6 separate regions of the Homo sapiens genome follow, and regions 2, 3, 4, 5 and 6 are each linked to region 1. Evidence: promoter capture Hi-C in 16 types of primary human blood cells and fetal thymus (Javierre and others, 2016). All regions are on one chromosome and are shown on one strand. Each heading gives the region's core, a stretch centred on a gene start or on the middle of the fragment in contact. The rest is flanking DNA. Distances are from core to core; before and after follow the strand shown.

Region 1 (2,719 bases), core at 82-2,581:
GACAACCAAGGGACAGATCCCATTTCTTTTCATTTGACGTGACCGCTGTCATGATACTTTACAAAGAATGTGTGTGCCAAACATGAGGGATAGACGAATAAGTACAGGTCACACTGAATCTAAAAAAGACACTTTTCAAGAGGGAACTTCCTCAAGGAGATAGTACCTGAATTGATGGGGCGGCATGGAGATGGCTGATTATTCCAGGCAGAAGGGCCAGTTTGAGCAAAAGCATGGAGGAATGAAACAATAGTATTCTGTTTTCAGAAGCTGTATATATTTGACACAATATACACATAATCAAAACATGTGTACGCCGTAAACACAATTTTTGTCAATTATACCTTAATAAAGAAGGAGGAAAAAGGGCCTTCACTAGCCCAAATGATGCCCCTGTGCGGTTTTTTCTTTAAAGGCACCTCTTCCGTTAAGTGAAAGTTTTAGTATATTATCACATCTGTACAGTTTTATTATTAAACCCCAGTACACAATATTTTAATGTTGAGAGATGGTGTAAACTGAGCTTTAGAGCTGCAAAGACCTGCGTCAAGCCCCCGCCCCCGCCCCCGCCCCCGGGCACTCATCGTCCAGCACAACAATTGCAACAACACCTGGGCGTTCTCTGCCCATGTAGCGAGGTCAAGGTCCTGGGAGCCGAACTCTCCCTTGATGTTCAATCTTTTTAAATCTTTCCCAGCCTTTATTTCTCATCTGCAAAATGACGATAATCGCATTTGAAATTCTCCGTTTTCAAAATGCAGGAATTTATTAAAGGATACGTAGGCTGGGGAAACAAGGGAGACGAAAGATCTAAATCTAAATGGTAGACCAGAAAAAGGAAGGCAAGGGTGTCTGGAAACACAAAACAGTCAACATAGATTTTAAGACTCATCTATACTCTCTTCTTCCCGGGTTTGGGAACTGCGGTTGCTACACAGGTCACATTTGAAATAAAAGTCCTGGGACGGCGGCCGGCGCGACACTCTCCCCCGCACAGCGCAGGCTCTCACTGGGAATCTGCCGGGACCGCAGTTGCCAAGGCGACTCCGCGCTGCAGGGCGAGGCGGCCATCCGTCTGTGCCCGCCCCCTCACGCCGTGGCGCGCTCTCACGCTTCCCCGCCTCCGGGCGCTCCGCGGTGCCGACCATTGGCTGGCTCTGCAGGTCTCACTATCCTCACTCCATCCGCGGAGCCAATGGCTGGGACCGCCAGGAGCTCGTTCGCGCGAGTCACACGATGTCGGCAACTGCACAGACCAATCACCGCGCCGAGAAGGCGGGGCGGGAGCTCTCGCAGGCCAATAACGACAGGACGGGCCGCCTGGCCCACCCGGCTCCACCCCCAAGCCAGGCGAGGCAGGTTCCGAGGTTGGAACACCTGGCGAGTCCTCGGTGTCGGTGGCCGGCAGTCATCTCGCGGCCGTTCAGGTGAGGGGGTTGGAGGAGTGGCTCATGAGCGAGGAAGGGGGAGCAGGCGGGCTCCCACCCGGTGCTCCGTGAGATCGAGGGGAGCGGGTTCTGGGTGCGGATGCACGCGCTGGGCGGGACGCTGGCAGTGGTACCCGAGACGGGGCGGAAGGAGACTGGAGTGAAGGTGGGCCTAGGCTAAGGTACGTGCTAGAAAGGATGAAAACGGAGTGAAATTCTTAAGTGATGGAACTAGGCTAGGGCATGTTTCTTGCCCTTTAAAATGTGTTGTCTTCGGGAGACAGGACGTAGAAGATAGTTGCAGCACAGGGTGATAGGCTGGCGAAAGTTATACAAAAGCAGGAACCACTAGAAGGAGGTAAGATGTAGTGTGCTTTGGGAGTAGTGGGGTTGGGAAGGGCGTCCGAGAGGAGGTTACTGAAGGATGACTAGGAGTTGAATGGGAGGACATCACCTGTAAGGGAACGATATTTCCGTGGGCAGAGAGGAATGAAGCAGTAGCAACCATGAGTGATCAGATACTGCAAAAATGTGAAGTGTAGGATGGCGAGAATGTAAGAAATGAAGAGTGAAGAAGTCTGGAAGGGCCTCGTGTGCATCAATCACAGCGGGGCTTGATCTTTATGCTTAGGGCAAGCACTCCCTTGAACTTTGAGTGTTTTAAGGAGGTTATCTCTGATGTTTAAATTTATATAGATCGTGGCATTGCATCTTAGAAATAAGGTTTAGGAAGGGCAAGCTTGGAGGCAGGGCAAGTCCAGAAAATGAAGGAGCTGGTGAAATCCGTGTTAAAGTGCCAAAGGACAGAGACTGGCTGACAGCTAAACTTCAAGGTTTCTGAGAATCCACAAATAACTAAATTTATCTAGTCAACCTGTTCCAGAACAGGCTTCCAGTCATTTAGGTTGCCCAAGAATGAGTAAAGGAAAAGGAAATTCAATTTTCCAAGACCTTGTTTCCCCTCTCCTCTTTAATTCCTTGTTCGGTTAGCAACAGTATATCCATTCCCTCGCTCCTTTGTGAAAAGTAAATTCCTGAATGTTAACTAAACCAAGTGTTTCTAAATTGGGTAAGAGTTTGAAGACTTAAGGCAGCAGAATGGGAGAGACTTAAAACGTTATGTCTGAGAATTAGGCATTAAAGGAGGCCTAGTATTTGGGCGGGGGTTGTGAGGAGCACATACTGAACCTTTGGACCTGTTGAGTGAGTTCATGTGCCTCTGAACTCTCTGACTGGATATGACCAGTAAACTTGGATAATTAGATCCTGGAGTTTAGGGGAGAGGGCTAGAG
Region 2 (2,719 bases), core at 129-2,628, 1.8 Mb before region 1:
GCTTTTAAGAACCCACACCCTAGCTGCTGACTCTACAGCTCAAGATCTTAATCACTACACTGGTCAAATGCAGTAGATTAAAATTATAGGCTATTGGATTACTTTGTAAGAGAAGTCTTTCAGGTAAATATTTGAATGCATCTGTACAATGATTTATTACAGTTACTTATCTGTAATTAATTGTACAATTATTTATTACTCTTATAAGGCATTCTTATGCAAATGAACGCCTGGAGCAATTAGTACAACTCTTTAGAAAGTAGGCATAAGATAAATATTGTTCAAATATGTCAGACAAGGCTACTTGTTTTTATTAACTTTTTAAAATGAACTCCTGAAGAGGTTTTGGTATAACTGTTTTTCTGTCTCAATCGTGCTTACTTTATTAATTTGCTCAGCAAGGTCTTTATAGATAATCTAGATTGTAAACTTAAGCCAGCATAACCCTTATCTGGATGGCCATACATTCTGAATGACTGATATGCAAATTAATCAATGCATTGAACCCCCACAATCATCTAGTGCCTGAGAAATAGTGAGAAATAGTCAGCTCTTTAAAAATGTGCACGCTACCCTCTTGTTGGCCTTAAAGTGGATTCAATGCTAAATACTGATTTGGTAAGAACAAAACAGTGAATCTGCTACAGTGTTGATGATGGAGGGATGGGAGAGACAATAATATCATTATTTTCTAGGACTCTACAAAATACTTTTACTGACATCATTTTATTCAACGGAACCCCCAAAAGTTGAAAAACTAGGTATTATTGCCAACCTTCTACCTCCTTTCCCTTTCTTGAAATAAAACTCTTAGGTTACTGGACTCACCCAAAGCCACCAAACAACTACATGGTGGGGAGGGTGAATCCAGTTCTTCCACACACTAAATCTAGATTCTTTCCACTGTATTTTACCGTATCCCATTAGGAAAATATTTGCAGAGTTATACGAACATTTCTACCTCACAGAGATTATACATTCTTGGCCTGGGGACGGAATCTAGCCTTCAGACCTCTTTTGTTTTGCCTGAAGAGTTTTTGAATTTGAATTAGTTACTATTATTTTAAAAATGGTAAGAGATTAAATCTGCGATTTTCACTTCATTTGCAAAATAGTTTTGGCAACAATCAGCTAGAACTTAGTAGGGACATCCCCCTTGAGAGTAGGCACATCTATTTCAGAATGCCACAGACCTCACCACTCCTTACCATATCCCTCAGTACTGTTATCTGCTATTTTTCATCATAAAACAAGATCTCTTCATTCATTTTTATTACCTATCTGGTTCCTGATATAAAGTAAATTGTCTGTGGACTAAGCAGATCTCTACAGATACCGTTAGTAATTTTCCTCATCCAATTTGGACAGGGTAATCTTTATGCATCTTTCTAGCCCTGGTTCCCTACAGTCAACAACCTTTTTATCTTAATTTTCTTCATTAAATTGTTCCCCTAATGGAACAGAGAGACAGCTTTGAAATTGAAGATTTCTTCAGCTAAAAATTCCCACAAATTTCCCTTGAGTCATACTTTAATAGTTGGAATTGGACCTGTCTGGAATTACTAGAATTATTCCCCATACCACTTTCAAGTCTGTTTCAAATTATTTTGACTAACTCATTTTCCAACTCCCTCCCTCCATCTCTGTCCTGCCAGAATGTAAATTCTCTGAGGTCAGAAGATTCTGGTCTTGTCCACTACTAAAATCTTAGGCCAGGTACAATGACTGGCCACACGGCAGGTGCTCAGTAAATATTTGTTTACTGAATGAAGGTAAAAATGATGAATCGTAAGTGGATGTTACTGGAGCCCTCTCAGTGTGGTCTTTCAGACCTAGCTGCCTGTTGTGTGGTCTTCTGTATGAACAGAGTCCTCTCTTCTCAGCAATCTTTTGGGAAATAATTCATTTCCTAGACACAGAAAAGGATCTAGCTCCAAAATTTGTTAACTTTGTTTATTGATAAAAATACTCCTTCAAAATATCAGTTTTTGTATTGAACTAACATTTACAGAAAACCTAGCCTTTAAGAAAACAGAGTTATATTTCTTAGGTTAACTAAACTGATTTGCTCAGACTTCAAATCTACACTGGGGTTTTTTGTTTGTTTGTTTGTTTTTTCACTGTGCCAAGTTGAAAATGGTTTTCAGCCCATCCAGCCTCTTTTCTTAGGGTCAAAAGTCTTTCATGTATGCCTCAGGGCTGCAGAAGAGCTTTGCTGTCACTTGCTTTTGCTTTATTTTAGCCTTTACTCACTTGCCAACAACTTATAAGGAAAAAAGTAAGTGTAGCGAAGGTACTTATATCTGGCTTCCAGTCACTTTTCAGGATGCTTCCTAAATGCTAACTGCCCTCAAACATTTTCGTTTTCTCTCTTCTATTTTCTTCCCTGTTCTAACTTGACTATTTTCATCCTACTTTTTAAATTTAAAAAAATATATAGAGAGTCCTTCTTGCTTTTCTCACCATGGTTTGCTTTGAAGGGTAATGAGAAAGATTCAGACACAGGCTGTTTCTTTATCGCTTAGGTCTTGGACTCCCCTTCTTATTCAGCATCCTATCCTTCATCACTTAAGCTACTGTAGATATGAAGGATTTTCTTTATATCTTTTAAAAATTCTTCTGAACGTTTAAAATGCATTTGAATGTTAGGTCTCTTTCTTCCTTTTTTTTTTTTTTTAAATAAATTGATTCTTCACTTGCTTTTCACAAAATCACAGGA
Region 3 (2,719 bases), core at 196-2,695, 1.7 Mb before region 1:
GTAAATACTATAATTACATACATGTTACAGCTGAGGAAACTGAAAAATTGGGGCTGCTTCTCACTGATAGGTGGTAACGCTGAGATCTGGACCAGGTATCTGGCTCCACTATGGGTGGAGATCTGGGTCCAGATTCAGGCCTGTTTGACTGCAGAGATGAAATGCACAATTTCGTCACCAAGAAAATAACAGTAAAGGTAAAAAGATTACCCCAAATTTCGAAGTCATTCTAAAAATTCTCATATTGGAACTATGTAATCATGATTCTGAAATCCAGAGAAAAAGGAACAAATTCTAACTCAAGAGATCAGGTCATATTTGAAGAGAAGGTATAGTAGGCTAAATAATGGTCCCCCCAAATATCTCAACATCCTAATCTTTGGATAGTGAATATTTTACCTTTTATGGTAAAAGGGACTTTGCAGATGTGATTAAGTTAACCATCTTGAGTTGAGGAGATTTATGCAAATTATACTGGTAAACCCAATGTAACCATTAGGATCCTTATGAGAGGGAGGCAGTAGAGTTAGTCAGAGAGAGAAGATGAAGAATATGAATAGAGGTAAGAAAGGAGGAAGATACTACACTGATGGCTTTCAAGGTGAAAAAAGGGAAACCCTGAGGAAGGTGGCATGGGGAAGCTTAAAAAGGCTAGAAAATGAGTTCTAGAGTTTCCAGAAGGAATTCAGCCCTATTAACATGTTGATTTTAGCCCAGTGGGATCTCTATTTGGCTTCTGACCTCTAGAACTATAAGACGACAAAGCCCCAGGGAAATGCAGATGCAGAGACTACTGGATCCCAGGACGTGATGTATTCTGGTGGTGGCTCTGCTCTCAAAATGGTGCCATGTTGCAGCAGGTTAGGTCCCAGGAGGTGGGGTGATCCCTATGATAGTAGTTATAGGAAATTAATAAGGAGGTAACGATCCAGCTAATCTTAAAAGGCAAATAGGAATTATTTTAAAAGCTTAAAAATATTTAAGGTAGAGGAAACCATTTGTTAAGAGACCTAAAGACACCACCAAAAAACTCCTGGAACTGATAAACAGATGCAGTAAATTTGCAGGATACACATCAACATACAAAAATCAATAGTGTTTCCAAACCCCAGTGAAACAAAGTAGATGAGAAAGAAATCAAAAGAGAAATCCCATTTATAATGATGACCAAAAAAACCCCACTTAGGAATAAATTTAACTAAGAAGGTGAAAGCTCTCTACAATGGAAAGTACAAAACAGTAATGAAAGAAATTGAAGAGGAATAAAAAAAAATGAAAAGATTCTGTGCTGATGGAATGGAAGAATTAATATTGTTGAAATGACCATACTGTCCAAAGCAATCTACAGTTTCAGTGCAAACCCTACCAAAATATCAAGCAAATTATTTGAAGAAATAGAAAAAACAATCCCAAAATTCACATAGAACCACAAAAGAGCCCAAATAACCAAAGCAATGTTGAGCAAAAAGAACTAAGCTAGAAGCATCACACTACTTGACTTCAAAATGTGCTACAAATTCATAGTAATCAAAAGAGCATGGCATTGTTATAAAAACAGACACATAGACCCATGGAACACAACAGGGAATTCAGAAATTATCCATGTATTTATAGCCAACTGATTTTCAACAAAGATGCCAAGAACTTACATTGGAAAAAGGACATCTTAATGATGCTTAGTAAACTGGATATCCATATGAAGAAGAATGAAACTAGACTTCTATCTTTCACTATATATAAAAATCAACTCAAAATGAATTAAAGACTTAAATATAGACCCAAAACTAAAAGACTATTAGGAAAAACATGGAGAAATCGCTTCAGGACATTGATCTTTTAGAAAAGTTTTTGTGGGTACGACTTCAAAAGCACAGACAACAAAAAACAAAATAGACAAATGAGACTACATCAAACTAAAAAGCAAAGCTTTCTCCTTGCTTGTGCAAAGGATTGTTTCCTCTGCACAACAAAGAAAACAATCAACGTAGTGAAGAGACAGTCTGTAGCATGGGAGAAAATATTTGCAAACCATACATCCAATGAGGAACTAATATATAGAATATACAAGGAACCCAAACAGCTTAACAGCAGTAATAAGAATAATCTGATTGTAAAATGGGAAAATGATTTGAATAGACATTTCTCAAAATAAGACAGACAAATGGCCAATACATATATGAAAAAGTGCTCAATATCACTATAATTAGAGAACTGTAAATCAAAGCCACAGTGAGATGTTATCTCACTCTCCTTAGGATGTCTATTATCAAAAATATAGCAAATGGGCATGGCGGTGCATGCCTGTAGTCCGAGCTACTTGGGAGGATGTGCTGGAGGCTTCCTTGAGCCCAGGTGTTTGAAGCTAGCCTGGGCAACATAGTGAGACCCCTGTCTCTGAAAACACACACACACACACACAAAAGTAACAAAATAAAATTCACCAGAATGTGTGAGGATGAAAAGAAATTGAAACTCATATATACTATTGTTGGAATGTAATTTAGTACAGACATTATGGAAAACAGTAGGGAAATTTCTCTAAAATCTAAAAATATTACTACCATATGATCCAGCAATCCCACTATACTGGGTATTTATTCAAATAAAAGGAAACCAGTTCGTCAAAGAGATATGTGAACCCCCATGATTATTGTAGCATTATTCACAATAGATATAGACTCAATCTAAATGGTCATCAGCAGATGAATGGATACAGAAA
Region 4 (2,719 bases), core at 60-2,559, 1.7 Mb before region 1:
TAATACCTAGGTGATGGGTTGATAGGTGCAGCAAACCACTATGGCACATGTTTACCTATGTAACAAACATGCACATCCTGCACATGTACCCTGGAACTTAAAATAAAAAGGATCAAGAAAAGAAAAAAAAATGATTTAGCTGGATATATCATTTTATATTAACAATTTATAAAATCTTTTCATAATAGTATGCTGTTGTTCTCTGGATTTTATTGTTTTCATTGAAAAATATGGTATTAGTTTATTTAGAGTCAGCCATCTTTCTTGTTCTGCTCTTCCTCATTGTCTTTTGTGTATTGCATTCACTACATTTCTCTAGTCTAGATTTTTACTCAGAAGGTATAAATGTTCCTAAATCTAAGGATTCATGATTTTCATGAATTTCATTAAACACTGTTATCTTAAAAGTATACATCTGATCTTTGACAAACCTCACAAAAACAAGCAATGGGGAAAGGATTCCCTATTTAATAAATGGTGCTGGGGAAACTGGCTAGCCATATGCAGAAAACAGAAACTGGACCCCTTCCTTACACCTTATACAAAAATTAATTCAAGATGGATTAAAGACTTAAATGTAAAATCTGAAACCGTTAAAACCCTAGAAGAAAACCGAGGCAGTACCATTCAGGACATAGGCATGGGCAAAGACTTCATGACCAAAACACCAAAAGCAATTGCAACAAAAGCCAAAATTGACAAATGGGATCTAATTAAACTAAAGAGCTTCTGCACAGCAAAGGAAACTATCATGAGACTGAACAGGCAACCTACAGAATGGGAGAGAATTTTTGCAATCTACCCATCTGACAAAGGTCTAATATCCAGAGTCTACAAGGAATTTAAACAAATTTACAAGAAAAAAAAAACCCCATCAAAAAGTGGGCAAAGGATATGAACAGACACTTCTCAAAAGAAGACATTTATGCAGCCAACAAACATACGGAAAAAAGCTGACCATCACTGGTCATTTGAGAAATGCAAATCAAAAGCACAATGAGATACCATCTCGCACCAGTCAGAATGGCGACTATTAAAAAGTTGGGAAACAACAACAGCTGCTGGAGAGGATGTGGAGAAATAGGAATGCTTTTACACTGTTAGTGGGACTGTAAATTAGTTCAACCATTGTGGAAGACAGTGAGGCGTTTCCTCAAGGATTTAGAACCAGAAATACCATTTGACACAGCAATCTCATTACTGGGTATATACCCAAAGAATTATAAATCATTCTACTATAAAGACACATGTACATGTACGTTTACTGCAACACTATTTACAATAGTAAAGACTTGGAACCAACCCAAATGCCCATTAATGATAGACTGGATAAAGAAAATGTGGCACATATATATGAAGGAATACTATGCAGCCATAAAAAATAATGAGTTCAAGTCCTTTGCAGGGACATGGATGAAGGTGGAAGCCATTATTCTCAGCAAACTGACACAGGAACAGAAAACCAAACACTGCATGTTCTCATTCATAAGTGGGAGTTGAACAATGAGAACACATGGACACAAGGAGAGGAATGTCACACACCGGGGCCTGTCGGTGGGTGGGGGTCAAGGGGAGGGAGAGCATTAGGACAAAGACCTAATGCATGAGGAGCTTAAAACATAGATGACGGGTGGATAGATGCAGCAGTCCACCATGGCATATGTATACCTATGTAACAAACCTGCACATTCTGCACATGTATCCCAGAACTTAAAGTAAAACTTAAAAAAAAAAAACTGTAATTGTTTGACTTTCAAAAAGTTGCGTTAAAGCACATGTAATGAGAAACTGGTTTATGATCACTTGGAAGATTTGTATAGTTTTATAAAACTCAATTAAAATGTCTGTTTCAATGACCTGTATTCTGCCAGACTTAATCACAGACGGATATTAAACTTGTCAGAATTTCTTCAATTCTCATTCAAGCCTGTGAATAAACACTCTGTATGACACTTATTTTGAGCCTATTAAAGAATCCAAATTCAAAAAAATTCCCATTTTTCTCTGACTCATGTTTCCCCATTCTTTCTCATCTATTATGTAATTCAAAGTAGACCTAGGTTATAATTTTCACTCTGATTCTTCCTCTGTAGACACATCACCTTCAGCTCATTGAGGTATTATATTTCTTTAGGTATTTACACTTTGTATTCCTAAAAATTTGATAATCTTGGTTGTATTATCACTATTTATTTAATTGGATGCTGTTTATTGACTTGTTACTGTGGAAATTTAGTTGTCTTTCTGATTCTTCCTGAACTCCTCCCTTGCCCATCCATCTCTTTCTTCTGTTCTCCAAATAAGATTGTATAATAATTTGGCTACACGAATATTAAGTCACCTGCTATGCTAACTTTTTGCTACTAGCTGTCTTTTTGCTTTTTGCTTAATTTTCTATGATCTTCCCTGAAATTCATCCCTCATCTTGCTAGAAGTTATATTTTCTCTCCACACTCGAATACATCAGAAAATCTATTAATTTTATTTTGTTTTTCATAGTACTTTCCTCTGGAGCCTTCTGTTCTTCTGTGATCTGAAATTTTGGCTTTTTAGGCATGATTTCAAGCTGTTGCTTTGCCCTGACAACTTTCTTTGCCATCATTCTGGGGATTCCCTTTGTGTCTCTCCTATTTTGGAAGCCCTTTTTCCTGAATCCAGTATCTTCATTTTTCTAGATGCTTTTCTTTTTTTCAAAAAAATACAGATGTCAGTATCAGAG
Region 5 (2,719 bases), core at 108-2,607, 1.6 Mb before region 1:
ATTTTTTAATGTTCCTTATAATTTTCATAGTAAAGTTCTCTTTAACTGAGTCCAAGGATCTTCCATGATCTGGTCTATACTTATTTCAGGTTTCCCTCTCTGTCACTTTTCCAGATGCAACCGTTTGATCCAACTACCAGCAGTTCCAGAATATCATGCTCTTTTGTTTCTCTATAGCTTTGCTACATTTCTTGTTTTAAATCTAATATTAATTTATTTTTTAAAACTAAGCTTACGCTTAACCTACCCAGAAAGCCTTTTGAGATACCACAGTCCAATTTGGATCCCTCTTGTTTGTGACACTATAATATCTTCCTTGTGTCTTTTAAAAACATTCAGGACTATTTCTTTGAAGTTATAGGTAACTAGTACTTGTGTCTTTGTCAAACCTAATAATCTTTCTCAGTATTACTCCTCCCTAAGCTCTTTGGGGAATCTGCTCCCTGGAACACCAGCTCTTGTTGAAACATACTCTCTTTGGTGTTCTGTGGGTCGTCACTCTCTAGATTTGCTCATCTGTCTCTTGCCACATCTGAATTCTTCCAGGCTCCTTGTCATCCTTCCTCTGTGGAACTAGGAGTGTTTCTTGCCATTCTATCTTTAGACTTCTAAACTTTTTTTCTACATATTCTCCCTGGAATATCATTTCTTATATTTAGAACCACCACTTCTAAGGGATAAATCCTGTATCTTCATTTTTAATCCAGACTTGTGTTACATGATGCTTCACTATGACTTAAAACACTTTCACAACACTTATTGAAGTTTACCATTATGTATTTCTATAATTTATTATTGCTTGAATGACTCATTACACTGTAAATTGTATGGCTCATCATTGTATTTCTAGTTGCCTAGCACTGTGTCTAATACATACATACATACACACATATATATTATTGAGTACCTAATAATATATGTAATACATTATGTAATATTAACATATTTAATAAATATATTAAATATTATTTATATGTAATAAATATGGTGCATTAGGTGCTCATTAGATGAATGCTAACCAGATATTAAAGGGAACTAACTTATTTGCGAACAGCATCGGTAAACAGTATCTCCATATTTTAAAGGGCTGTGCTATCACATGCATATGGGAATTGCTAAGATATCTCCCTTTTCCTGACTAGTTTTCCGACTTTTTTATACCATTAACCATTTTCAGGCTATATAAAGAAAGAAAGATTGATAGAAAAAAAGGGCTATAACGTGTGGTTGGGAGAATGTTTCCATCTATCTCAAGCCAAGTAAGGGAAGCTCTTTAGGAAAACCTTGAGCAGAGTTTTCAGAACTGGCATGTACAGTTACACAGGTAGTATACTGCCCCCTAGGGGTGATAGTCACATCATAGGCTGATATAGTTTGGTTATGTTCCCCTCAAATCTCATCTTGAATTGTAGTTCCCATAATCCCCATATGTCATGGGAAGCACCCATGACATATAATTCAGGTAACTGAATTATGGGGGGTGGTTACCCCCATGCTGCTGTTCTCATGATAGTGAGTACTCATGAGACCTGATGGTTTTATAAGGGGCTTTTCCCCTTTTGCTTGGCACTTCTCTTCCTACTGCCATGTGAAGAAGGATGTGTTTGCTGCTTCTTCCACCATGATTGTAAGTTTCCTGAGGCTTGCCCAGCCATGCTGAACTGTGAGTCAATTAAACCTCTTTCCTTTATAAGTTACCCAGTCTCAGGTACTTCTTCATAGCAGTGTGAGAACAGACTAATACAGTAAATTGGTAGCAGTAGAGTGGGGTGTTGCTGTAAGGATACCAGAAAATGTGGAAGCAACTTTGGAACTGGGTAATAGGCAGAGGCTGGAATAGTTTGAAGGACTCAGAAGACAGGAAAATGTGGGAAAGTTTGGAACTTCCTAGAGACTTGGAGGGCTCAAAAGACAGGAAGATGTGGGAAACTTTAGAACTTCTTAACTTGTTGAACAGCTTTTACAAAAATGCTGATAGTGATATGGACAATGAAATCCAGGCTGAGCTGGTCTCAGATGGAGATGAGGAACTTGTTGGGAACTATAAAAGTTGTTCTTACTATGCTCTAACCAAGAGACTGGCAGCATTTTGCCCTTGCCCTAGAGATAGTGAAACTTTGAACTTGAGAGAGATCATTTAGGGTGTCTGGTGGAAGACATTTCTAAGCAGCAAAGTATTCGAGAGGAAACAGAGCATGAAAGTTTGGAAAATTTGCAGCCTGACAATGTGATAGAAAAGGAAAAACCCATTTTCTGGGGAGAAATTCAAGCCAGCTGCAGAAATTTGCATAAGTAATGAGGGGCCGAATGTTAATCACCAAGAGACAATGGGGAAAATGTCTCTAGGGCACGGCAGAGACCTTTGTGGCAGCACCTCCCATCACAGGCCTAGAGGCCTGGGGGGAGAAATGGTTTAGTGCCGCGGGCCCAGGGACCCCCTGCTCTGTGCAGCCTCGAGACGTGGTGCCCTGCATTCCAGCTGCTTAAGCTTCAGGTTCAGCCATGGTTAAAAGGGGCCAAGGTACAGCTTGGGCCAGATTAGTTCCCATAATCCTCACATGCTGTGGAAGGGACCCAGTGGGAGGTAATTGAATCATGGGGGTGGTTACCCCCATGCTGCTGTTCTCATAATAGTGAGTTCTCATGACATCTGATTGTTTTATAAGGGGCTTTTCCCCCTTTGCTCAGCAGTTCTGTTCCTGCTGCCATGTGAAGAAGG
Region 6 (2,719 bases), core at 151-2,650, 1.6 Mb before region 1:
AATTGAGAAGCCTTGAAATGGAATCTCTAATGGTGACAAATCCATCTTGCTTCTAATTATATTTTTGAAAGTCATTGTTTTCCATTTTGACAAATGACTCTAAATTACTTTTCACTTCCCAAGCACCAGGTGTATATATCACATGGCGACTCATTTTAAAGAATAGCTCTTACATTTTGTTTTTTCAGGCAACATAAAATCTAGAGTATGTCTCTCAAACGATAATCTTTTCAACACTCTGGGGTCCTACTTAGATTTATATACAGTCTAGGGAATATTTTGTTTTTTTTTTTTAATCCACTGACTCTACAACCTCTAAATATGGCCAAACTGATGTTTTTATCAAATTGATTTCTAAAACTTGCCTTGGTGACAAAAATAGTTAAATTCCCCCAGAGTTCAGCCCAAAGTCCAGAAAAATTAAATTCATAAGAATTATACCATGAATGTTGATATAGTTTCAACTTGGATATGTGGCAGATCTATGGTGTTTGAAATGAGAGAAAAAACATACTTTACATAATACTATGACAGTAGCAAATTGGCCAGACATGGTGGCTCACTCCTGTAATCCCAATACTTTGGGAGGCTGAGGAGGGTGGATCATGAGCTCAGGAGTTCTAGACTAGCCTGGTCAACATGGCGAAACCCCATCTCTACTAAAAATACAAAAATTAGCTGGGCATGGTGGTGGGCACCGGTAATCCCAGCTACTCAGGAGGCTGAGGCAGGAGAATCGCTTGAACCCAGAAGGCGGAGGTTGCAGTGAGCCAAGATCTCACCACTGCATACCAGCTGGGGCGACAGAGTAAGACTCTGTCTAAAAAGATAGATAGAAAGAAAGAAAGAAGGAAGGAAGGAAGGAAGGAAGGAAGGAAGGAAGGAAGGAAGGAAGGAAGGAAGGAAATTATCTCTTGCACACAGCATGGAAAAAGAAAAAATAGCCTACTTATTTTCTTGCGTAAAATCATGTCTTCTTATTACAGTAAAAGCTTAAAAGAGTTAAAACCATGAACAAATCACATTTGTGTTCTGCTCACAGATAACAATTATAGGTTAAACATTATAAACATTTATGTGAACTCATGAAGTGCAGAAGTCAACAAACAAGAAAATGAGTACTTCACCTACTTTTGAAATGTTACTTGATCGACTTGCAGATCGCCCTGGGGATTTTTCATTCTGAAAAATAAAATGGGAAACATTAATTAAAAGAAGGTATGGTACTTTCACCATACTGTACCACTGAGAAGAGAAACCACAGCACAAGGAAATCTGTGAATGCTCTCTATATTGTTTTGACTAATACACATATTAATTGCTTACACAGAATGCTTTTTTCTTTTATGAAATCATATTTCTCTAATATATATTAGTGTACTTTAAAAATGCTTCAATTAATATCTGAGTATTAATCAGGTTACAAGTATTTGTTTCCAGGAAATAATTATTTCTCCAGAAAAATTTTTGAAATTCTTCGGCACTAAAATTAGACAGTAAAACTGTAGTCTACCATTTCCCCTCTTGCCCTTGCAACTAGGAAAGTTTGAGTCAATTCTGGTTTTCAATATCATTAAATATTCTGTGCTGGGTATATGCTATATACATCCACCTCGTATTCTTCTAAACTGCATTTTATTTATTTTTTGTTATTTTACATACTCTGAAATTAAAACATTTACTTTTTAAAATTTAAGATGCTTCTGACTGTATATGTTTCAATTAAAACTTAAAACTTTTATAAATATTTATATCCTCAGTTCTTTCCTCTTAAAGAATTTTTTTATTTAGCAGAAAAGAGGCATGAAAAAAGCTTTTGAATAAATGTTTTTTAAAAGGTCATATAATTTTAAAGTAGAAATGGACCTTAAGTAGTTGGGCCCTCCCGTTTGAAGCCCAGAGACATTGTGTTCCTGAAAATTATATAGCTACTTTTTCTACTCTGCCAATTATGTGCTGATAGATGATCAACTGGAAAAATCAGAGTTTATAAGCATTATGCATTCTACATGTAGAAAGAGATCAAAGATCAAAGGACACCTCTACTTCTGTAGAGAAAATGTTGTTGGAACAATCAATTCTGAATACTAAAAGTTTATAAAGGATCTGACATAACATTGTCATTGAAATAATTTACCAATGTAAGAATTCCTTTTGTTTTTTTTTTAACTTCTGGACTCAGCCCCAAAGTGGGCCTGAGTAGGCAACTGCAATGCATCTTGACATAGGTCATTTTTGAGAACTAAGTTGTTATAACAACCCGTGGGGCTGAAATTGCCCATGATGACTACTTGAGACAGTTTTAGAGACACAGTGATGACAGGATATGGCAGATGTGTTATTGCAGAAAAACAGTGGCTGCATTCACTGCAAACTGTCACTGTGTCATGTGCAGGCTTACAGATATTCCAGCTGAACAGTACTTTTTCCTTTACATGCAACATCCATCTCATACAACCACTGATGTCACTGTGGAGCATGTTATTACAGACCGAGATGAGTCACAACGATACGGTTAGTTACAGCTCATAACAGCCCCATGCTCCAGCTGGAGATTAATGTATATGCTACCACAGACATTTTTCCCTGATTAGCTCCACTGGTGATGGAGGGAGGCACTTTTCTACTGACGTCTCAACTCCTCTTCTAGAGACTAGAAAACAAAATCAATCCATCTTTCCTTCTCAGTGAAATTTAGGATTTTGACACATTATTGTGT

What was found. The method cuts DNA at HindIII sites, captures the fragments that hold promoters and counts their contacts. A CHiCAGO score of 5 or more calls a contact.
Region 2: a contact is called between a fragment that was not itself captured here and the fragment with the promoter of MSMO1 in region 1, in 1 of 17 cell types (total B cells). The highest score is 8.4, in total B cells.
Region 3: a fragment that was not itself captured here is called in contact with the fragment with the promoter of MSMO1 in region 1 in 6 of 17 cell types (naive B cells, M0 macrophages, M2 macrophages and 3 more); the score reaches 10.8 in naive B cells.
Region 4: a contact is called between a fragment that was not itself captured here and the fragment with the promoter of MSMO1 in region 1, in 6 of 17 cell types (total B cells, naive B cells, M0 macrophages and 3 more). The highest score is 10.2, in total B cells.
Region 5: a fragment that was not itself captured here is called in contact with the fragment with the promoter of MSMO1 in region 1 in 4 of 17 cell types (non-activated CD4 T cells, activated CD4 T cells, total CD4 T cells and 1 more); the score reaches 7.9 in non-activated CD4 T cells.
Region 6: a contact is called between a fragment that was not itself captured here and the fragment with the promoter of MSMO1 in region 1, in 1 of 17 cell types (total B cells). The highest score is 7.0, in total B cells.

Annotation. Positions count from the first base shown.
Region 1 is chr4:165,326,338-165,329,056 of GRCh38, forward strand. MSMO1 (methylsterol monooxygenase 1) reads left to right here and starts at 1,332. Exons shown (of 6, transcript NM_006745.5): 1 at 1,332-1,427. RefSeq lists a silencer at 931-1,270 and an enhancer at 1,361-1,630. The HindIII fragment of the contact is 2,277 bases long and covers 1-2,164 here.
Region 2 is chr4:163,569,658-163,572,376 of GRCh38, forward strand. All of the region lies in intron 8 of MARCHF1 (membrane associated ring-CH-type finger 1), which reads right to left. Among named protein-coding and RNA genes, the nearest start is that of TMA16, 76 kb to the left of the region's middle. The HindIII fragment of the contact is 8,468 bases long and covers 1-2,719 here.
Region 3 is chr4:163,614,319-163,617,037 of GRCh38, forward strand. The region is part of intron 5 of MARCHF1 (membrane associated ring-CH-type finger 1); the gene reads right to left. Among named protein-coding and RNA genes, the nearest start is that of TMA16, 120 kb to the left of the region's middle. The HindIII fragment of the contact is 958 bases long and covers 967-1,924 here.
Region 4 is chr4:163,658,849-163,661,567 of GRCh38, forward strand. All of the region lies in intron 5 of MARCHF1 (membrane associated ring-CH-type finger 1), which reads right to left. Among named protein-coding and RNA genes, the nearest start is that of TMA16, 170 kb to the left of the region's middle. The HindIII fragment of the contact is 5,960 bases long and covers 1-2,719 here.
Region 5 is chr4:163,680,067-163,682,785 of GRCh38, forward strand. All of the region lies in intron 5 of MARCHF1 (membrane associated ring-CH-type finger 1), which reads right to left. All of the region lies in intron 1 of LOC107986325 (a long non-coding RNA gene), which reads left to right. Among named protein-coding and RNA genes, the nearest start is that of TMA16, 190 kb to the left of the region's middle. The HindIII fragment of the contact is 2,257 bases long and covers 230-2,486 here.
Region 6 is chr4:163,699,682-163,702,400 of GRCh38, forward strand. MARCHF1 (membrane associated ring-CH-type finger 1) reads right to left here. Exons shown (of 10, transcript NM_001394959.1): 5 at 1,132-1,182. Among named protein-coding and RNA genes, the nearest start is that of TMA16, 210 kb to the left of the region's middle. The HindIII fragment of the contact is 821 bases long and covers 991-1,811 here.